Linked DNA regions of Homo sapiens: region 2 is linked to region 1. The links are contacts of gene promoters, found by promoter capture Hi-C in human tissues and cell types (Jung and others, 2019). All regions are on one chromosome and are shown on one strand. Each heading gives the region's core, a stretch centred on a gene start or on the middle of the fragment in contact. The rest is flanking DNA. Distances are from core to core; before and after follow the strand shown. Region 1 holds the start of IFNA8 (interferon alpha 8). Region 2 has its middle 5.6 kb from the start of IFNA17.

Evidence for each region. Contacts are between HindIII fragments. The study calls those that stand out against the background at their distance.
Region 2: a contact is called between a fragment that was not itself captured here and the fragment with the promoter of IFNA8 in region 1, in 1 of the 25 tissues and cell types used here (lymphoblastoid cells).

The regions. Positions count from the first base shown.
Region 1 is chr9:21,406,234-21,411,689 of GRCh38, reverse strand. It overlaps IFNA8 (interferon alpha 8), which reads right to left and starts at 2,573. Exons shown (of 1, transcript NM_002170.4): 1 at 1,505-2,573. The coding sequence starts at 2,513. The coding sequence ends at 1,944. The HindIII fragment of the contact is 21,883 bases long and covers 1-5,456 here.
Region 2 is chr9:21,231,048-21,236,503 of GRCh38, reverse strand. It overlaps the pseudogene IFNWP5. Among named protein-coding and RNA genes, the nearest start is that of IFNA17, 5.6 kb to the right of the region's middle. The HindIII fragment of the contact is 6,389 bases long and covers 138-5,456 here.

The DNA of each region.
Region 1 (5,456 bases), core at 1,324-3,823:
AAATTCTTTAATGTAATTGATGGGTGATTTTGTCAGTTTTGTATTCCAGATTTCTGTCATAATTGCTAAATCTCCTTTTATTCATGAATTATACATAACTCTTCCTTGCTCTCTGAATATGCGTGGTTCATGTATTTTCACTTGATGTTGACCAGTTTTTTTCTTTACCTTACGTATTGAGAAAGAAAGTCTCTGATTGTTTCCCACTTTTATTTTGTGAAGGATGTTTGTCAGTCTTTATGTCCATAGTAATTCGGTTCTTTCTGGATTGATCTAAGACTACAATATTCATGAAATCAGGAAGAATTACCAAAGTGTAACATAAAAGAATTCTTATATCTAGCACTACAAGAAATTAAGATGGATTGTAAAGGTGCAGAAGAACTGTAGTAAACCAGTGTGACAATGATGCAAGTTAACAACAAATAAGGCCAATACTTCCAGGTGTCATTATATTATCATCATTAATTATTTCGGTGAAGGATCGAATTAGTTATCTCTTACTCCCTAACAGATGAACAGAAACTAGGTAGCTTACTGATAGCCAAAGTAGTATTAATTAAAACAATAATAAATTATAATTGTAAATAATATATCATGATTTAAAATAATATATTAAGTATATTAATATGATTTGCTAGTACATCAGTTACATGAAATCTATCCAGAAAAATATTAATAAAGGAAATACTATGCACAGAAAAAGTAACTCACATTCTTTCCCCCATCACATCCTATTTTTTTGCCCTCTTCAGAGTCACTAACTTCTCTTATTTATACTTCCAGCCACTACAGTATGGTTTGTTCTGATTTATTTTACCATAATAACTCTCATAAGGTTGCCAGTGCCATCTATTTTCCCGAGGTAGTGGACAGTTTCAATGTATATCTTCTGTAAATCTACTGATAACTCTTTTAAGAATATTAATTTTCTTAAACTTTTTTTCCTAGTATTTTCTCCTGTTGTCCTTCTAATGTGTGGCCTTTCCATCTGTTTCTTTGTGGCTCTTCTCTTTCCTTTCTTAAGTGTGGAAGGTCCTCAGAATCACGTTTAAGCCATTTTCTCCCTCGACACTCTCTCCCCACATGAGATCCTCCATTTCTGGGCTTTCAGTTACTGCATATGAACCTCTAGCAATTGCATTCCTTATTAATTGCAAACTCATATATCCAACTGGTAGTGCACATTTTCACTTAGATGTCTACCAGTTAGCATATAGAGGATATCTCTGCGTTTATTTTTATTTCCTCACATGCCTTGGTCTACCTTCTGGTGAGATAAATTCATTGGTTCTTTCTTCTCATGATAGCATTAGACATAACTGATATTAAGTATGATTACTGTTTTTAGTTTTCTTTCCCAACAAAAAACAAAGATATGAGAGAGCGGGAATTGTATTTGTTATGTTCACCTGGATATCTTGAGGGCAACATACAACCTAATTTAGACAAAGTTCATTTTTACTTATAATTTGAATGTAATAAGCATGGATAAAGGAATTGTACCATCCATTCTTTAATCAGTTTGCACAATCAGGGTTGGAGTTCAATTTTAAAGAATAAATAAAGAATTTTTCTATAGTAAAAATTTAATAAACAAGGCAAAATAATAAATATAAAGAACATGTTTTTGTTACACAATTCACAATGTAAAAGTTCACATAATATAATATGAACAAAACTAATTTAAGCCCTATAGATAGTTAACTAAATAAAGATTTAAATAAATAGATGAATAGATCCATCAGCATGGTCATCTGTAAGGGACTAGTGCCCATACAGCTGAACAGGATGTTGCTTAACACTCCTGAAAACACTTGACACATTTGATTCAATTCATAGCATGGTTTTGGCAGAAACAAGGGTCTTTGAAAGAGCACAACTTGTCGAAGTGTGAGCTGCTGTATTAGTCTATAAGAATCATTTCCGTGTTGTACCAGGTCTCATTCCTTACTCTTCAATCTTTTTTGCAAGTTGATTGATAAAGAGAAGGATCTCATGATTTCTGCTCTGACAACCTCCCAGGCACAAGAGCTGTATTTCTTCTCTGTCAGATATAGAGTGATTCTTTGGAAGTATTTCCTCACAGCCAGGATGGAGTCCTCGTACATCAGGGGAGACTCTATCACCCCCACTTCCTGCATCACACAGGACTCCAGGTCATTCAGCTGCTGGTCAAGTTCGATGTAGAATTCATCTAGAAGGGTCTCATCCAAAGCAGCAGATGAGTCCTTTGTGCTGAAGAGGTTGAAGGTCTGCTGGATCATCTCATGGAGGACAGAGATGGCTTGAGCCTTCTGGAACTGTTTATCATCAAACTCCTCCTGGGGGAATTCAAAGTCATGTCTGTCCTTCAGGCAGGAGAAAGGAGAGATTCTTCGCATTTGTGCCAGGAGTATCAAGGCCCTCCTGTTACCCAGGCTGTGAGTCTGAGGCAGATCACAGCCCAGAGAGCTGAATGACTTGTAGCTGAGCACCACTAGGGCCACCAGTAAATAAAAAGTCAAGGCCATTGTAGATGTTGTGGATGCTGCTGAGCTGGTTCAGATGGATGACCCTTAACCTGGGTCTCTGAAGACTTTGGTTTGTACACCGCCTTATATAGGGAACATATTTGTTTCCATTTTCTGAATGCTACTGCATTTTTTTTTTCTACTTCTGTTTTTGCTTTCCTTTATGTACTCTCTACATGGGCTTAGGAAAGTGTTTCTCAACCAGTTTTCTTTTCATTACTGCATTCCCTTTCTCAACCTCCAGAGTCCTGTTTGATAATTTTTTTCTAAGTAAACCCCTCCTGATAATTTAATAACACAGATATATTATGCACATATTTGAATGTACTACATTCCTATCCATGCTTTAGAAAACAAAGTGGACAGTTTACTTTTTTATGCAATGCAGCATTAAGAATAAGTAAAAATTTTATGTCAAAAGTTAAATTTAAAAGCTATTGGCATTTAACTTTATAAAAGTTATTTGCTGAGTGACTTCTAGTATATATACTTATATAAATATTAATGAATCAAGTGAAACATGCAAAGTTATAATATATGAAAATATATAATACCAATATAATAAAAATACTTATATAAAATATGTAATATCAAAAAAATAAAAATACTTAAAAATCTCCCAAAACTGCTAAGGGGCTATTTAAAATTAAATTATTCCTGTAACATTTAATTTATTATACTTAACTTTTAGCTTTGCTTCATATAGAAAATGATTTTTACCTTCACTAACTGCTAGATTTTCATCCAGATATAGTCAACATATTTTTCTTTTCAGCACTTCCTATAAGTAGTGATGTTTGAAAAAGTTTTATACAATTTAATCATAAAATAAAAACATTTGTATAAAAGAGTATAATACACTTGAAAGCACTGAGGATCAAACATAAGCTACATACCCAAGACAGCCAATGGCAGCCCATTCATATGCCGATGGAGACCACATCACATGGTATGACTCTGAGATTGAGCACATAGTGGAAAGTCCACCAGTGACAACCATCTATTTCACATTGGTTTGCAACACTAATCTCACATACATTTTGTGTATCTTCCATGAACTCAATATCAGTCTTTTCATGTAATACATAAGAAAACCAAGTGAAAGAAAATAAACACTACAGGATAGGGTTGTCTTAGAGTTCTGCATTGAGGGGCCATAAACGAATATAATATCTACAATTTGTTCACACCACAAGAACTAAGGTTTGTGCCCTTAGGAGCAATATCATCCCCAATGAGAATACACAATTGAGAAAACATCAATTATATTTTTCAAAACAATTTTTGCATTAATGTTTAGATTTCCCAAAGAACCTGGGGACATCCCAATTCTAGTTCATTCTTATAAAATAAAAAAAGCCATCTGTTTCCTAAGGTAAATAATAATATCTAAGTATGATAAAGTAAATGAGGTGTGCAATTGTTGTACATAGCATGCAGGATACCAGATATCTTTCTCATTTCCTTTTTCACAGAAAGCAAAAGTTGTTGCTTTTTGTATCCCAATAAATGAGAGCAAAAAGAAAACAAATGTATAACTAAATGTGATAAAAACATAAGAATGGAAGTAACATCCCAAAGGAGAAAAACAACTAACAAAATATAACTTGGATATTCAGCCCAGATTAGATGGACATTAAGGGGTGAGGAAGAGCAGAAGCAAAATGGTGCAAGAGATGTAGAACAAAGGTAGCAAATGGGCAGGAGCTCAAAGAAAAGTAATCATTACTGGTCCAAGGGGATGTTTTCAGCTTTAGTGAATTCAGCCTTACTAGACAGTTGAGGGTGATGAACCAAACATAAGACACTGTGCACCAGAAAGGCAAATTTGTAAGAGCACAATATTCTGTCTGTAGAATGGACAAGTATAATTATCTCAAGTTCTCCACTAGTAGACAGATAAACTCAGAAGATCAGTATATTGCATGTTATCTGTTGTGATGGTTAACATTGAGTGTTATCCTGATTGAATTGAAGGATGCAAAGTGTTGTTCCTAGGTGTGTCTGTGAGGGTATTGCCAAAGGAGATTAAAATTTGAGTCAGTGAACTGCGAGAGGCAGACCCACACTCAGTCACTGTGGGCACCATCTAATCAGCTGCCAGCATGGCTAGAATTAAGTAGGGAGGAGAAGATGGAAGAGGAGACTTGCTGAGTATTCTGGCCTTCATCTTTCTGATGGATGCTTCCTGCCTTTGAAATCAGACTCCAAGTTCTTCAGCTTTTGAACTCTTGGACTTACACCAGTGATTTGGAAGGGGGTCTCAGGCCTTTGGCCACAGACTAAAGGCTGCACTGTTGACTTCTCTACTTGGGAGGTTTTGGGACACGGACTGATCCACCACTGGCTTCCTTGCTCCTCAACCTGCAGACAGCCTATGGTGGGACTTTACCTTGTGACCGTGTGAGTCAATTCTCCTTAATAAACTCCCTCTTATATATAAACATATCTTCTTAGTTCTGTCCCTCTGGAGAACTCTGACTAATATATCTATCTAACAAGAAGCCAGGGAATAGATGATCTCAAAGGAAACTTATCTTGACTTAAAAGGACAATAATGATAACACTAATAAGAAGAATAAAAAGTTGCTAAATTTTATCATGTTTGCTATCAATCAGATATTGTTCTTAGCACTTACAAAAACTATTTTCACTTCATTCAATGAGAAATACCCTCATTTTCATTTTTATTGAACATCTACTATATGCCCATCCCTACTTAGTTGCTAGAGATATCAGTGACCAAAGCAGACACTGACAGGTTGTACTGTTGTCCTTTTTTACAAAAGGAAAACCCAGAAGCACAGGGAGCTATTGAGTTGTGGAGCTACAGTTGGAACCCAAAACATCTGACTCTAAATCCTCATTTCTTACATGTTCCCTGGGAATTATTTCTGGCCATAAGACCCAGAGCTGGTTTCTAGACCCCGGTCAATGTTTTCT
Region 2 (5,456 bases), core at 2,083-4,582, 180 kb after region 1:
GAGCAGCATCTAGATTGAAGTGCAGAATACACGTGTTGATGGTTAACTGATTCTGGCACCTGGAACATTTGTTTCCTGGCTCTCAGAATCCCAGAGTACACTCCCATATGAAGTTACTCTCCTAAACTTAAGTAAAATATACATCTTTGCTGGTTCTGAGAGCTGACACACTTTTCCCTTTCCTCCATGCTTTTCTGTATCCCATTTTTTCACTCCCATATCACATTAGTTTCCTTCCTCTTCCTCTAGAAATGCGCACTGTGCTCTCTTCTTCACTCATCATTAGCCTGCACTGCCTCTTCATACAGCTGTTTTCAGTTCTCTTGTGGGTTTTACCCATCACTTTTCCCTTAAGAGCACAAAATCACAAATTAAAGCAGAAGGTCAGTGAAAGTTCTAGGTTTTTCAGAAGCTCTTTTTATAAAATACTCTTTTTCCTTTCTTATGATGAATATTTCTGTAAAACACGGAATGTCGCTGTTGCAATGACATAACAGTAGCTTAGCAAAAAAGGAAATAAAACGCAGGTTCCATTCTACTTTGAGACTATTACAAGATTTACAGGGAAAGAGAGCCACCAACTGGTCAAAGTGCACCAACACAGCAGCCAAGTCTGAGGACAGCAGGCTGTGAATGCAGAAGTAGGCCTCCTGGCAGGATATTTATCTTCATAGCTAAAAAGAGGCTCTTCCCAAGAAAGAACTATCACGGTACTGGAATTAGCCCATTTCCTTAACTTCTGTATCGTGGAGAGAGAAAATACTCCCAGCTTCAGGCATGACATGTCCTCTTGGGGCAATGGACAGCTATGGGGAAAGAGAAAGGGTCTGGATATGTCCCTTTCCTCCAGCCTGCCCAGCCTCCCCGGGACCTCCTAACTTATCCCTTCCTCTATGGATTGTGCTAGACTAGGAATGAGAAGAGCCGGTCAATCTGGGTGTAGAACTTCAAGGGAATTTGATTTGTGATCTCTCTATCAAGATTGTGGAAGCTTTCATAGACTATATCCTGAAATACATTTTCCAAGTTGTTTGTTTTCTCCCTGTCTCTTTAAAGGATGGAAGTGATTCCTAGATTTGGCCTCTTTATACCACCCCCTATTTCTTGGAGGTTTTGTTCATTGCTCTTCATTCTTTTTTCTTTATTTTTGTCTGATTGTCTTATTTCAGAGAGCCAGTCTTCAAGTCCTGAGATTCTGTCCTCAGCTTGGTCTATTCTGCTGTTAATACTTGTGATTGCATTGTGAAATTCTTGTAGTGTGTACATCTACTAGGTCCGTTAGGTTCTTTTTCATACTGGCTATTTGGCTATCAACTCTTCTCTCTTTTGATTGTGATTCTTAGTTTCCTTGGTTTAGGTTTTACTGTTTTCCTGAATCTCAATGGAATTCCTTTCTATCCCTATTCTGAATTATATTTCTGTCATTTTAGCTAACTCATTTTGGTTAAGAACCCTTGTTGGAGAACTAGTGTGATTATTTGGAGGACATAAGATGCTCTGTCCATTTGAGTTACTGTAGTTCTTGCATTGGTTCTTTCTCATCTCTGCATATGGGAGTGTAGCTTGAGTTCAATCAATAAAGAGACTTATTTTCTGGCTGTGTTCACAGGGCTGTAGCTTTGTGCAGGGTCTTTATTTGTAGCTGACATGTCTTTGGTTGAATGAGGGTGTGTTAGTGAGATTTGTTGGTGTTGAAGCTTTGGGCATGACCTAGTAGGTGACTCTTAGGTGCAGTGGTCAGTTGTCAGGCTCTTGCTCAGTCATGGGGCTCACCTACATTTCCTCACGGTTGTACACGTGCTCCATCTCAATGCTTTGAAAGTTTGGGCTCCTCTCCCACTTGAGTGCTGACTGTACCTTGTATCTTGGCACTCCCAGGCTGCCCACAACAGCTCTGGGGTGATCTCAGGGTTAATGTTTTCTCCCCAACTTGGAGCCATCGAAGGAAGGGACCTTAGTAGTTGTTGTAACTGAGGGTCTTTTGCTTGTCTCCGGGGGGCTCCACCACAGAGAAGCAGGTCAGCAGTCACTCAGTGCAATCAGCGTGGGATGGGAGTGTGTCCTGTGGGCCCAAGCCAGGGGTTCCCTGCCTGGTGATGTGAGGGGTGGGTGATTGACCAATGGCAGACAGACTGGCCTCCTCTCTTGGGTTGACGGCAGCTTGTTGGAGGTATGGATAAGGTACTTGAGGTCTCTGCTCCTTCATCAGTTCCAAGGTAGCTGGGGTAGTACCACTGCAGAGGCAGTGGTAGACAGGCTTTCTGTTGCCCCTGGGGTCTCCACCTCCAAGAAATGTGAAGCCATGTTAATGGCAGTGTTTAGCCAGAGGAGTGGGGTGGCTGCACTGCTGGTGTAAGCTTGGGGCTTCACTTTTTGGGTAATAGAAGGTGGCAATCTTACCAGGAGGAGAGACTGTTCTCACCATATGGTAACTGCAGTGTGCTGTAAGTTCATGTGACAGTGGCTTGCTGCAAGCTCGTAAACAAAGAGCTTCAGACTCTTTGTTTCTTCCCCAGACCCAAGGCAGCAGGGATAAAACTGCTGCTGTGGCAGTGGCAGAGGTAGGATGGCTGTGGGAGCCTCTCCCCAGGGAAACTCCAGGCAACTACCAGTGGATATGCTCAGCTATGGGTAGGTTGACTGTTTTGCAGTCATGGGCTGGGGGCCCTGCCTCCTGAAGAATAGGGATGCAGATTCTCAGGGAAGAAAGGCTGGACTCCTCTTTGTATGGTGGCTATGGTGTGCTGGAGGTGAGAGTGTAGTGACTAGGCCCTTTGTTCCTTCCCCAGCCAGAGGGCTGCTGGGGCTGTCCCACTGCAACAGTAGTGGTGGATGGGTTGTGGGTTGACTGTAGGATTTCTTCCTTTGAGAAATGCTGGACTGCCTGATTGAGGAGATGAGGCAGGGGAAGGGTGCCTGTGCTGGAGTCTGGTCAGGTGGATCTGCCCACAGAGGAGAGGTGACAACCAGGAACTGTATGGAGAACAGTATGGTCACTCTTCTGTGAGGCAGTTGCTCTGTTTTGGGGATCTGGACCAGCCACTGTTCCCTACAGACTCTCCAGAGCCTGGAGACAGCAAGGGCAAGAGCTGTGAGAAAGCAAAGATGGCAACCCACCCTTCTCACTGGGAGCTCTGTTCCAGGGAGATGCAGAGCTGTCATTGGCTCAATAGCCCCAACTGGTAGCTGCAGACCCAAGCCTGGCAGACCCACCCAGTGAAGAGAGAGGGGATCACGGACCGACATAACACACAATCTGGCCACTTTTCCATAGGGCTGCTGCAATATGCTGGGGGTCCAATCCAGACCATAGTCACTTCACATTTTTCAGTACCTGAAGATATCAACAGTGAAGGCTATGAAACAGTGAAGATGAGGGCCTGCCCCTCCCCCTGGGAGCTCTGTTCCAGAGAGGTACAACCTGTTGCCTCCTGCAACATACATGCAGGAGGTGGCTGGAGACCCCGGTGGGGATATCTCACCCACTGAGGAGAAACAGTATCAGGGACTCAGGTGAAAAAACAGTCTGGCCACTTTTTGGTAGAGCAGCTGTGCTGTGCTGGGGGTCTGCTACCACCGCCAGCACGAAGAATGGCATTTTCAAGAATGGCTAAGGCTGCTAAACGGCAACAAAGGCTACCTACCCTTCCCTTTGGGAGCGCCATCCCAGGGATATTCGAAACTGCGGTCCACTAGAAAACAGTGGTGGAGGTGACTGGAGACCCCAGTGGGGAGATTCCACCTACAGAAAAGAAACAGGATTTGGGATCGATGTGAATAAGCAATCTGACTGCTTCTCTGTAGAGCTGCTGGGCTGTGCTGGGTGGCTGCTCCAGTCCCTAGCTGCCTTGGACTCCCTAGAACACAAAGGCTCCAATAGCTAAGGCTGTGAAACAGCAAAGATAGCAGCCCACACCCTGCCGGTGGGAGCTCCATGTCAGGGAGGTGTGACGCTGCTACCAGTGTCTGGCTGGATTCCCAAGCCAGTGGGTCTTACCCTGAGACAGGCCATGGAAGGTGGGCCTGCCACTTGTCACTGCCCAGCACCCTGAATGAAACCCCTTTCCTAGGGGTATGTATAGGGGTCTAGCGTCCTGCTTGGCTGGAGTTATAGCTTCTTTTGTGGGGAAGCCTGGGTATCTAAGGCTCCAGGGTACCCATGCATGCCTGAGCAGCTGCTCTGCTGAAACCCTACGTAGCCCTGCATGTCAGACTGAAGGCTCTGGTAGAGTGGGTTCACTAGGAGATCTCCTGATCTGAGGATTGCAAAGATCCGTGAGAGAAGCATGGGTCCCCAGGGCTGCTGACTTACCACTTCCCTGGGAAGGAGAGGCTCCCCTGGCTCTGTGACACTCCTTGGTGGGCAGTCGTCCTGCCTTGCTTTGCTCTGTTCTCCATGGGTCAAGCTGTTGAGTCCCAATGTGTGTACCTGGATGTTTCAGTTGAAGGTGCTGTATTTACTTGCCCCTTCCATTTCTCTCCACGAGAGTGGCACACACTAGCAGCTTCTAGGTGGCCGTCTTGGCCAACCCTGAAAACTATTTGTTTCCAACTATAAGCCATGCATAAAAAGAATGCCTTGAGAGAACCTGGAGTCCAGGGTTCATCCAGACCCCAGCTCAGCTAGGCCAGCAGCACCCTCGTTTCCCAATGGTCCTACTGCTTCTACTGGTGGCCCTGCTGCTTTGCCACTGTGGCCCTGTTGGATCTCTGGGCTTTGACCTGCCTCAGAACCATGGCCTACTTAGCAGGAACACCTTGGCTCTTCTGGGCCAAATGCAGAGAATCTCCACTTTCTTGTGTCTCAAGGACAGAAGAGACTTCAGGTTCCCCCTGGAGATGTGGATGGCAGCCAGTTGCAGAAGGCCCAGGCCCTGTCTGTCCTCCATGAGATGCTTCAGCAGATCTTCAGCGTCTACCCCACAGAGTGCTCCTCTGCTGCCTGGAACATGACCCTCCTGGACCAGCTCCACACTGGATTTCATCTGTAGCTAGGATGCCTGGAGTCTTGCTTAGGGCAGGCAATAGGAGAGGAAGAATCTGTAGGGGTGATTGTGGCCCTACACTGGCCTTGAGGAGGTACTTCCAGGGAATCCATGGGAATCCAGAGAATCTACCTGAAAGAGAAGAAATACAGTGACTGTGCTTGGGAGGTTCTCAGAGTGGAATCATGAAATCCTTCTCTTCATCAACAAACTTGCAAGGACTGAGAAGTAAGGATGAAGACCTGGGGTCTGCTTTAGTCTTTCTTATTTTCTTCCTCTTCCTTACTATGTGTTTATTCCTTCTTTTTCTAGTTCCTTAACTTGTAAAGTTAGTTCATTCGTTTGAGGTCTTTCTTCTTTTTTAATATAAGCTTTTACAGCTTTCATTTTCCCCTCTACCTCTGTTTTCATTGCATCACATATGTTTTGGTATGTTGTGTTTTCATTTTCATCTCTCTCAAGATATTTTCT